2 separate regions of the Homo sapiens genome follow, and region 1 is linked to region 2. The links are contacts of gene promoters, found by promoter capture Hi-C in blood cells and fetal thymus (Javierre and others, 2016). All regions are on one chromosome and are shown on one strand. The core of a region is centred on a gene start or on the middle of the fragment in contact, and the rest is flanking DNA. Distances in the headings are between cores, read along the strand shown.

Region 1 (5,772 bases), core at 231-2,730, 110 kb before region 2:
AGGATTAGCTAAGATTATGACCCAGATCGAACAGTAGACGCAGGGAAGGCACTAACCAGAAATCAGCACCCTCCCCTCCTCAGCCTACCCAGTTCCCTGTAATTTGCTAACGGTTTTGGCTACCCACGTACCTCAAGGGGTACTGTGAGTTGAACTGCACTCCCCCAAAATATATGTTCAGTCCCTAATATCTGTGATACAGGGTCTTTGCTGACGTGATCAAGCTAGAATGAGATCATATGGGATTAGGGTAGGCCTAATAAGACAAGAGAATTTTTTTTTTTTTTTTTTTTTTTTGAGACAGAGTCTCACTCTGTTCCCCAGGATGGAGTTCAGTGGTACAATCTCAGCTCATTGCAACCTCTGCCTCCTGGGTTCAAGCGATTCTCCTGCCTCAACCTCCCGATTAGCTGGGATTACAGGCGCCTACCACCACTTCCGGCTAATTTTTTTGTATTTTTAGTAGAGACGGGGTTTCACCATTTTGCCCAGGCTGGTCTTGAACTCCTGACCTCAGGTGATCCACCCACCTCAGCCTCCCAAAGTGCTGGGATTACAGGCGTGAGCCACCGTGCCCAGCCATGACAAAGGAAATGTGGACACAGACACACAGAAGGAAGACAGCCACGTGAAGACGGAGGCAGAGATCAGAGTGACGCAGCTACAAGCCAAGGCGCACTAAGCACTGCCAGCCACCACCAGAAGCCAGAGAAGGCAAGGAAGGACCTGCCCCTAGAGACTTCAGGGGGAAATGTAGCCCTACAGACACCCTTAATTTTGGACTTCTAGCCTGCAGAAGTGTGAGAGAATAAACTTCTGTGGTTTTAAGCCACTCACTTTGTGGTACTTTGTTATGACAGCCTAGGAAACTAATCGAAGGGTTAGTGAGAGAATGACTGGGTATACCTACATGGCTCCATAAATGTGACATATTTACACAGGGGAGGGCTGGTCCCTCCCCTTGCCTCCCTCCCAGAGCCTGGTATAAGCGGATCACGGGGCCAACACCTTCTATAACGAAATCGCAGTTTACCTAGTAGCTTCACAAACAGAAAGGTGTCACCCACTGATGACCTCATACCACTTCATCCTAAATACCGTATTTCTTGGTTACTTGTTTCTTGTCTTTCCACCCTGCTGCTCTGTGAGTGCCGTGAGGGCAGGAGGCTTGCCTGTCTTGATCGCTACTCTAGTCCAGATTTCTAGAACAGAGACTGGTGCAGGCTAGGAGCTCACTCTTTGTCGCATGAGGAATGAGTGCTGTTATTTACTTTTATGTTCTGTGTGGCATCTGACACACGACTTCACAGACAAATGGCAGGTGAACTAAAGACCTGACCTGGGGGTGGTTCTGGGTGGGCACGTGTAACAAAAAAGATGAAGCCATGAAGCCCCACCTGGAATCACCTGGTAGGTCCTGAGCAGCCCTGGGACAGCACGGCTCAACACAGAAGGACAGACATGTGTGGAGAAGGCCTGTGTTTCCTTTTCTTTTTCTTTTTTTTTTTTTTTTGAGACGGAGTCTCACTCTGTTGCCCAGGCTAGAGTACAGTGGTGCGATCTCGGCTCACTGCAGCCTCCGCCTCTTGGGTTCAAGCGATTTTCCTGCCTCAGCCTCCCAAGTAGCTGGGACTACAGGCGCATGCCACCATGCCCCAGCTAATTTTTGTATTTTTTGTAGAGACGGGGTTTCCTCATGTTGGCCAAGATGGTCTCAAACTCCTGACGTCAAGTGATTTGCCCGCCTCGGCCTCCCAAAGTGCTGGGATTACAGGCGTGAGACACTGCGCCCAGCCTAATTTTTGTATTTTTAGTAGAGATGGGGTTTAGCCATGTTGGCCAGGATGGTCTCGAATTCCTGACCTCAAGTGATTTGCCCACCTCAGCCTCTGAAAGTGCTGGGATTACAGGCATGAACCATGGCACCCAGCCTCCTTTTCTGAGGAATAACCATGCCTCCCACTGCCATCGCCGCCCTCCCCAGCACCTCCTAGGCACCCTCTTGGCCTCCGCTACTTTGCAGCTTTTCACATCACAGATGCCACTTGGGACCAGTGTTCAAGACTCCCAGTCAGGCCAGGGCCAAGCCAGGGTCCCCGCTGACTACACCTCAGCCTGCTCCGCCCTCTGATGCAAGGGAGTCAGGACTTAAGGGACTGGCTTAACTCAGCTGTATGCCTGCCTCAGACCAGGGAAGGGCTGTGGGGAGCAGCTGGGGCTGAAGTCATAGGGGGAAGCGTATAGGCAAGAGGCCTGGGCAGGCCAAGTGACCGTCTTAGGAGCAGAAGGTCGGGAGGCTTGGTTCTAAGAAGAGTTTCCTTAGTGTGCCGGGAGCTCTGAGCAGCTCCCCAGGTGTCCTGGAAGCTGGACTTCCAGGTCTATGGGAGGGGTGGGAGGGGAAGTGGTGGGAGGAGGAAGGAAAGTCAGTTCTGTTGGGCACCTGGGCTTCACGGACCTCCCCTCCCCCAGGGAAACAGAAATGGACAGGTCACCTGTTCATGCCACACAGCTGGGGTCCAGCCCCCACGGGGCAGCAGGAAACACAGACGTGACAGAACACTACCCAGAGTGGCACGGTGATAGCAACAGAGGGGACCAGGGAGGCAGGAGATGTAGGGAGAATCCAGAGAGTGAAAGAGACTTAAAATGCAGCTCAACCAGGCCAGGTGCAGTGGCTCATGCCTGTAATCCCAGCACTTTGGGAGGCCGAGGCAGGAGGATCACCTGAGGTCGGGAGTTCGAGACCAGCCTGACCAACATGGAGAAACTCCGTCTCTACTAAAAAAAACACAAAATTAGTCAGGCATGGTGGCGCATGCCTGTAATCCCAGCTACTCGGAAGGCTGAGGCAGGAGAACTGCTTAAACCCGGGAGGCAGAGGTTGAGATGAGCTGAGATTGTGCCACTGCACTCTAGCCTGAGCAACAAGAGCAAAACTCCATCTCAAAAAAAAAAAAAAAGGAGTAACATCTATGATATATATATGAAACAAGTAGAAATTTGATCATTGAAAATGGGTATTTAATAATTTTAAGGAGTCACTGTGTTTTTATATGTTTTTATTTAGGAGACGTCTCGCTCTATCACCCAGGCTGGAGTGCAATGGTGCCATCATGGTTCCCTGCAGCCTCGACCTGTTGGGCTCAAGCGATCCTCCGACCTCAGCCTCCCAAGGAGGTTGGGACTATGGGCATGAGTCACCATGCCTGGCTTTATTTTCTTTTGTAGAGACAGGGTTTCACTCTGTTTGAGACCAGGCTGGTCTCAAACTCCTGGCCTCAAGTGATCCTACTGCCTCAGCCTCCCAAAGCACTGGGATGACAGGCATGAGCCACCTCACCCAGCCTGGACTGACCCATTTCCAGAACTCAGTTGCCTTGTGTGTAAAGGCAGGAAGAAACTGACTTTATACTTTTTCTTTCCTTCACCACAGAACCCCTTCTTCAAACAGAAGCTTTGATGACAGCCAAATACACATAAATAAAAACAAAACAAGCAGCTCAGGCTGATGCAGGAGGTGGGTGGGGGGTGCTCAGAATTCAGACCTAGATCCCTGGGGTTTCCCTTTGAAATTCACTGGGTTGGGGCATTTTTGGGTCCTTTCCCAGGGGCGAGGCACTGAGTTTCAGTTCCTGAATACTCGGATCACTTCCCTTAAATGTATAAAGTGGGCAGGGGCAGGGGCAGTGGGGGCAGAGGAAGAGACGGGGGCCGCCAGTCCCTTTTGGCCTGAGCTGAGAGATGAAGAATGAGCCCTCCAGCCTCCCGGTCTGATCTGCCACAGGAGCAAAGGGAACCAGGCACACAGGCTGAGTCTCTAAGCAAGAGGTTTGGCACCGGGGAGGAGGCAGGTAGCCTAAAGGGATGGAGGGGACAGATCAGTGCCAAGAATGGAATGCAGCCCTCCCAGCCTTTAGGAGCAGCCATCCCTAGAGCAGCTGACAGGGACAAGCGTCCCTTCAGACCTGCAAGGGATCCACACTGCTGGGGCTCTCGGGTTCCTGAAGTCAGTGGGTTACAGGAGAAATTTTCCACATGGGGCAGTGCCTGGAGTTCCTAGGCAGGCCAGCAGCCTCCCTCCCTCCGCCGCCCACCCACCCCAGGATCATCGGTGTTCTGGCTCCCGGGCTGCACACACATCCAACAGGTTCCAGCTGCGGAAATTAGTCCATGGCCCTGTGGCCCCTGCTTTGAAGGTTCCATCCGTCAGCTCCGAAAGCCTCGGGCTCGGGGCCAGGACGAGGCTGCTGAAAGTCATCTTGAAGGCTAATGTGAAACATACACGGGCGCGACCCCAAACTCCCCAGAGCCCGGCTCTTCCGAGAGCTCACAGAACTCTTCCACATCACAGTTCTGGAACCTTCTCCAGCATCCTCACATTTCTGGACTGGTTTTGTATTTTGTTCCTCATCCGTGTCACACAGGTAGCACTGATTAGCAAGAGCACTGGTCACAGGTTCAAATCCGACTCTGCTCTACTGTTTTGAAATAGCAGTGAGGCCTGAGTTCGAGTGATACGCCCGCCTCAGCCTCCCAAAGTGCTGGGGTTACAGGGGTGCACCATGGCGCCTGGCCCCTCTCCCTGCATTTCTATCTGTCCTGGCAATTGGATGCCTCCCCTACCTGCCGCTCTGGCCTTGACCTCTCTCATGAGATCCAACTCAATGTGCCCGGAACCACACCCATCTATGTCCAGCCCCAAGTTGCTTTTCTTCTGGGGGTCTATTGGAAGCATTGTGTTCTCCCAATCACTGAAAGTCAAACCTACATGTGACTCTGATGTGCCAAGCACTATCTGAGCAACTCAAAAATAATTTGTCTACAGGCCTCAGTTTTTCCCATTTGTGAAATGGGGAAGCAGGACTGGAAGAACTCTAAGACTCCTTCCCGAGCTTAAAATGGAAAAAGTCTATGATTTTAAACCAACTTTAGGCCGGGAGCGGTGGCTCATGCCTGTAATCCCAACACTTTGGGAGGCTGAGGTAGGCGGATCACCTGAGGTCAGGAGTTCGAGACCAGCCTGGCCAACATGGCGAAACCCTGTCTCTACTAAAAATACAAAAATTAGCCGGGCGTGGTGGTGCGAGCCTATAATCCCAGCTACTCAGGAGGCTGAGGCAGGAGAAGCTTGAACCTGGGCGGCAGAGGTTGCAGCGAGCCGAGATCAAGCCACTGCACTCCAACATGGGTGACTTTTTTTCCATGACTCTGTCTTGGGGAAAAAAAAAACTTTAAAAAGGCCTGGCCAGCACAGTAGTTCACGCCTGTAATCCCAGCTCTTTGGGAGGCCAAGGCGAACAGATCACCTGAGGCCAGGAGTTTGAGACCAGCCTGGCCAACGTGGCAAAACCCCATCTCTACTAAAAATACAAAAAATTAGCCGGGCGTGGTGGTATGAGCCTGTAATCCCAGCTACTCAGGAGGCTGAGCCAGGAGAATCATTTGAACCTGGGAGGCGGAAGTTGCAGTGAGCTGAGATGGGGTCACTGTACTCCAGCCTGAGCAACAGAGTGAGACTCTGTCTCAAAAAAAAAGTCTGGGGACAAGTCAGCCAGCTTTGATTTCCAAGGGGTGAGAACTTAGTTTTTCTCCAAAACACAGTCCATCAAGGGCAAGATCCACAGCTCCTGACTAGCACCAGGCTAGACACCATACAGACACCCAGTAAATCTGTAAGGGAAGAAAGCATGGAGGAGGAGGAGGAGGAAGGGGGGAGGAAGAGAAAGAGGAGGAGGAAGAGAGGGGGGAGGAGGAGGGGAAAGAGATAACATG
Region 2 (5,812 bases), core at 513-3,012:
TTTTTGTATTTTTAGTAGAGACAGGGTTTCACTGTGTTAGCCAGGATGGTCTCAATCTCCTGACCTCATGATCCGCCCGCCTCGGCTTCCCAAAGTGCTGGGATTACAGGCGTGATCCACCACGCCCAGCCCCACCTGGCCCATTTTTGTATTTTTTTAGTAGAGATGGGATTTCACCATATTGGCCAAGGTGGTCTTGAACTCCTGACCTCAGGTGATCTGCCTGCCTCGGCCTCCCAAAGTGCTGGGATTACAGATGTGAGCCACCACACCCAGCCTGGAACTGGGATCCTAACCCAGGTTTATTTGACTGCAAAGCACTTAACCCAGCAAGGCAGGAGAGCAGGATGGTTAAGAGCACAGAATTGGGCTGGGCGCAGTGGCTAAACGCCTGTAATCCCAGCACTTTGGGAGGCCGAGGCGGGCGGATCACTCGAGGTCGGGAGTTCAAGACCAGCCTGACCAACACGGAGAAACCCCGTCTTACTAAAAATACAAAAGTAGCCAGGCGTGGTGGCACATGCCTGTAATCCCAGCTACTCTGGAGGCTGAGGCAGGAGAATCGCCTGAACTCGGGAGGTAGAGGTTGCGGTGAGCCAAGATCGTGCCATTGCACTCCAGCGTGGGCAACAAGAGTGAAACTCCGTCTAAAAAAATAAAAAGAGCACAGAATCTAGCCAGGCACAGTGACTCCCACTTGTAATCCCAGCAATTCAGGAGGCTTGGACAGGAGGATTGCTTGAGCCCAGGATCTCGAGGCTGCAGTGAGCTATGAAGGCACCACTGCACTCCAGCCTGTTTTTTTGAGACAGAGCAAGACCTTGTCCCCTCAAAAAAAAAGAGTACAGAGTCTGGAATTGCAAGACTGGAGTGAGCAGCAGTGCCACATTTTAAAATAAAAGCTCTTTTTTCTTTATTTTTTTCCCCAGTCAGGATTTAGTTTGTATCAACAGGACCCCTTTGCCCCCTGCTGGTCAGACTTGGAGCCCCAGCTCCTCCTTGTGGGATGGAGTAGGGGGTCCTCCCTTGTGCCTGGCGCTCAGCCCTCTGCAGAGCATCACAGCTGAATGCGAAGCCCAGAACCCCACTGCAAGCTGGCTTCAGGGGCGTGGCTTTTCTTGTTGCCAGCCAGCCCAGTGCTTAACCCAGGTCTCAGAAGGCAGGAACTGAGCCCCCTAGGTCCCAGAGCCCCGGGGGCAGGCCAGTTTCTCAAGACCCTCTGTCCACTGCTGGTCCTGAGACCCTCACTCAGTTGAAGTCAGGGCTGAGTTTGTTCAGAAGCCCCAGCATGTGAAGGCCCCCAGCTGGCCTGGGCCAGCGCTCACCCTGGGGGAGCCTTGGGGACACATCTCATGTCCCCAGTGAGCTCTGCACTCTGCCTTCCTGGCCCTGTTGCCCACTGTGGCTCTGACCCCACTCCGGCCGCCCGTCCCGGAGTCCCACTCACCGTGTTTCACGTTGTCCTTCCACTCGCCCACATAGTAGTCGCCATTCACAGCGTATACCTGGCTCCGCAGGCCGTTCCTCTGGGCCTTCCGGTCCCACCCCTTCCACAGGGACTCCGACTTTTTTGGGCACTTAGAGACTGGCATGGTGGCTGCTTCTGCAAGGCTGGAGGGTGCTGGAAAGGGGTTAGGGACATCTGGGGCTCAGCGCGCCCCGTGTAATGCCGGGATCCTGAGCTCAAGTGGGGAGAGTCATGTGTGTTCTGAGTCCCTGGGGCAGGTGAACAGCCCTTAGTGGGGATCCTTTAGTGCTGGACTGACCTTTGGTTGGCCCCTCCCTTGCCTCTCCTGGGGCCCCCTCCCAGGGGGTCTGATGGCACAATTACTTGGGAATCTAGGGAAACCAGTAGAGCAGGAGGGTTTGTGATGGCATCAGGGAGAAGCTGCCCCCAGGGAGGGGGTGGCGGTCATATATACATATATATATATATATATATTTTTTTTTTTATGTCTTCTAAATATTTTTATTTATTTATGTATTTATTTATTTATTTAGAGATGGAATCTTGCTTTGTTGCCCAGGCTGGAGTGCAGTGGCACCATCTCGGCTTACTACAACCTCTGCCTCCTGGGTTCAAGTGATTCTCGTGCCTCAGCCTCCTAAGTAGCTGGTATTACAGGCGCCCACCACCACGCCTGGCTAATTTTTGTATTTTTAGTAGAGACGGGGGTTTCACCATGCTGGGCAGGTTGGTCTCAATTTCCTGATCTCAAATGATCCATCCACCTCAGCCTCTCCAAGTGCTGGGATTACAGGCATGAGCCACTGAGCCAAATATGAATCCAAAATATGAACCCAAAATATGGGTTACATATTTTGACAATCACACCTAGGAGTAGGGAAAAATAATTCCAGGCAAAGAAAATAGGCAGAGCAAAAGCTGGGAGTGGGGAAACAATCTCAGGTCCTAAATTCTATGCCGTTGGGATTTTTTCTTCTCCCATTTCCAAATATCACATGTACTATTAATCTTTATATGTAAATTAACTCACTTGGCAGAGGTTGCAGTAAGCCGAGATCATGCCGCTGCACGCCAGCTTGGATGACAGAGTGAGAACTTTTCTCAAGAAGAAAATAAAAATAAGTTAACTCACTTTAAAAAAATCAATACATATATTGAAAAAAGGAGGGCCAGGCGCAGTGGCTCATGCCTGTAATCCCAGCACTTTGGGAGGCCGAGGCGGGTGGATCACCTGAGGTCAGGAGTTCGAGACCAGCCTAGTCAACATGGTGAACCCTTGTCTCTACTAAAAATACAAAAATTAGCCAGGCCTGGTGGTACGCGCCTGTAATCCCAGCTACTCAGGAGGCTGAGGCATGAGAACAGCTTGAATCCAGGAGGCGGAGGTTGCAGTGAGCCGAGATTGCACCATTGCACTACAGGTTGGGAGACAGAGCAAGACTCAGTCTTAAAAAATAATAATAAAATAGGCCGGGCTCAGTGGCTCACGCCTGTAATCCCCAGCACTTTGGGAGGCCGAGGCGGATGGATCACCCGAGGTCAGGAGTTCAACACCAGCCTGGCCAACATGGCGAAACCCTGTCTGTACTAAAAATACAAAAATTAGCTGGGTGTGGTGGCGGGCGCCTGTAATCCCAGCTACTCGGGAGGCTGAGGCAGGAGAATCGCTTGAACCAGGGAGGAGAAGGCTGCAGTGAGCCGAGATTGCACCACTGCACTCCAGCCTGGGCGAGACAGAGTGAGACTCTGTCTCAAAAAAAAAAAAAGACTGGGCGCGGTGGCTCACGCCTGTAATCCCAGCACTTTGGGAGGCCGAGGCGGGTGGATCACGAGGTCAGGAGATTGAGACCATCCTGACTAACATGGTGAAACCCCGTCTCTACTAAAAATACAAAAGATTAGCCGGGCGTGGTGGCGGGCGCCTGTAGTCCCAGCTACTCGGGAGGCTGAGGCAGGAGAATGGCATGACCCGGGAGGCGGAGCTTGCAATGAGCCGAGATCGCGCCACTGCACTCCAGCCTGGGCAACAGAGCAAGACTCCATCTCAAAAAAAAAAAAAAATTAGAAGAATGGAGACTTTACGTATCATTATTATAAATAGAAAACCAGTAGCAGGTACCCTAAGGCAATAATAAATGTAAAAATGAAAACACTGAAAGAACCAATTTAAGTCTTAGCTAGATGCTATGGCTTAGAGTTGACTGAGCTCCAAGGTCTCTGTTAAAAATAGGAATTAGCAAGGCCGGGAGCGGTGGCACACGCCTGTAATCCCAGCACTTTGGGAGGCCGAGGTGGGCAGATCACGAGGTCGGGAGTTCGAGACCAGCCTGGCCAACATAGTGAAACCGCGTCTCTACTCAAACTACAAAAATTAGCCGGGCGTGGTTGACGACGCCTGTAATCCCAGCTACTCGGGAGGCTGAGGCAGGAGAATCGCTTGAAACCGGAAAGCGGATGTTGCAGTGAGAGCTGAGATCTGCCACTGCACTCAGCCTGGGCAAAAAGAGTGAAACTCCGTCTCAAAAAAAAAAAAAAAGATTAGCAAATGTTAAAAGAGGTGTTAATGCCATGTAATCACCAGACTGACTCCTCTTGGCTTACTCAGAATTGCAAGAGAACCCAGACTCTAATAACTTTCTTATGATGTCATTGGGTGTTACTTCACACCTCATCAGTGTAACCTAAAATCACCCTCCATCCCACAGTTTAGGGAACATAGGTTCTACTCCGGAGGAGGCTGTAGTCCTAACACCTGAGCTGTTGACAGGAAATGAAAGTCGGCCCAGGTTGTTTTGATGCTGAGTAACAAAGACCGGCCTGGCGGCATGGGGGCTGCCGCCTGCAATCCCAGCACGTTGGGAAGCTGATGCGGGAGGATCACATGAGTCCGAGAGTTGGAGACCAGCCTGGGCAACCATAGTGAGACCTTATCTCTACAAAAAAAAAAAAAATTAGCTGGGCATGGTGGCGCAGGCCTGTAGTCCCAGCTGCGCGGGAGGCTGAGGTGGGAAGATGCCTTGATCCTAGGAGGTCGGGACTGCAGTGAGCTATCATCCGGCGCCACTGCATTCCAGCCTGGGCGGGAGACCCTGTCTCAAGGGAAAAAAAAACAAAACAAAAAACCCACAGTGGAAGAGGGAGGAGCCGGGAACCAGACGGCTTGGGGTCAGTCAGGAGTCCTGGGCCTGCCCCACCTGCGCCCGGCTCACCTGCGCTCACCTGCGGGATCGCAGCATCCAGCCTCAATGTCCGTCAGCTGCGCGCGCCGCGGGCCCGGCCGGGGTCGCTATGGCAACGCGCCGCCCCAGCCTACCAACCAAGCAGTGCCCGCCCCTTCCTGCCGAGACCCGGTAGCGGCAAAATTTGATAGGCAAACTTACGTCACACTGTTGTTTTGTTTGTTTTGTTTTGTTTTGTTTTGTTTTTTGAGATGGAGTCTCACTCTGTCGCCCAGGCTGGAGTGCAGTGGCGCGGTTTCGGCTCACTGCAACCTCCGCCTCCCGGATTCAAGCCATTCTCCCTGCTTCAGCCTCCCAAGTAACTGTGGTTATAGGGGCTTGCCACCACGCCCAGCTAATTTTTTGTATTTTTAGTAGACACGGGGTTTGGCTAGGCTGGTCTTGAACTCCTAACCTCAAGTGATCCGCCCACGTCGCTTCCCAAAGTGCTGGGATTAGAGGCGTGAGCCACCGTGCCTGGCCGTCACACTGGACCTTAGCCTTGTTGGGGTTTGGACTGCTCTGAGCGTCTAATGGGAGCCCTAGAGACCCCCCGGCCCCTGAAGGGTGCCTACTTATTACCCTCCACAAGTCGGCTTCAGTCACTCTCGGCTCACACCCTCCAGGGGCTACCCTGGTCACTCAGGGTAAAAGCCACAGCCCTTCCAGTGGCCTTCAAGGCCCTGGTGATCTGCTCGCCCCTCCCCTTTCCACTCACACCTTGCCCCCCCACTCCTGGCAACCCGTCTCTGCTCCAGCCACACACTTGCTTCATTGCTGTTCCTGGAAAATACTGGGCATGTTCTGGCCTCGGGGCCTTTGCCTCTTTTGTGCCTGCTGCCAGGACATCTGTTCCTCCGGAAAGCAGCCTGGATCATTCCCTTCTCTCCTTCAGGGCTTTATTCAAAAATCACCTTCTCAGTGAGGAGTTCCTGGAATCACCCTATTTAAAGTTGGAATTTCCATATACACTTGCCAACCCCCTCATTTCTGTTTTATGTCCTCTTTAGCACTTAGCACCACCACACATACACCCCTTATTTATTGTCTGTCTCTTGGAAGATAAACTTTTTTTTTCTTCCAACTTCTATTTTCAATAAAAATTTCAAACACAGAAAAAAAAATA

The links. Contacts are between HindIII fragments. The CHiCAGO score rates a contact against its expected background, and 5 or more counts as called.
Region 1: a fragment that was not itself captured here is called in contact with the fragment with the promoter of MORN3 in region 2 in 1 of 17 cell types (total B cells); the score reaches 5.6 in total B cells.

Annotation. Positions count from the first base shown.
Region 1 is chr12:121,556,959-121,562,730 of GRCh38, forward strand. The region is part of intron 4 of KDM2B (lysine demethylase 2B); the gene reads right to left. Among named protein-coding and RNA genes, the nearest start is that of KDM2B-DT, 21 kb to the right of the region's middle. The HindIII fragment of the contact is 3,944 bases long and covers 1-3,452 here.
Region 2 is chr12:121,667,892-121,673,703 of GRCh38, forward strand. It overlaps MORN3 (MORN repeat containing 3), which reads right to left and starts at 1,763. Exons shown (of 6, transcript NM_173855.5): 1 at 1,448-1,763. The coding sequence starts at 1,592. The region is part of intron 1 of LOC105370034 (a long non-coding RNA gene); the gene reads left to right. RefSeq lists enhancers at 3,900-4,826, 4,390-4,489 and a silencer at 4,700-4,749. The HindIII fragment of the contact is 76,456 bases long and covers 1-5,812 here.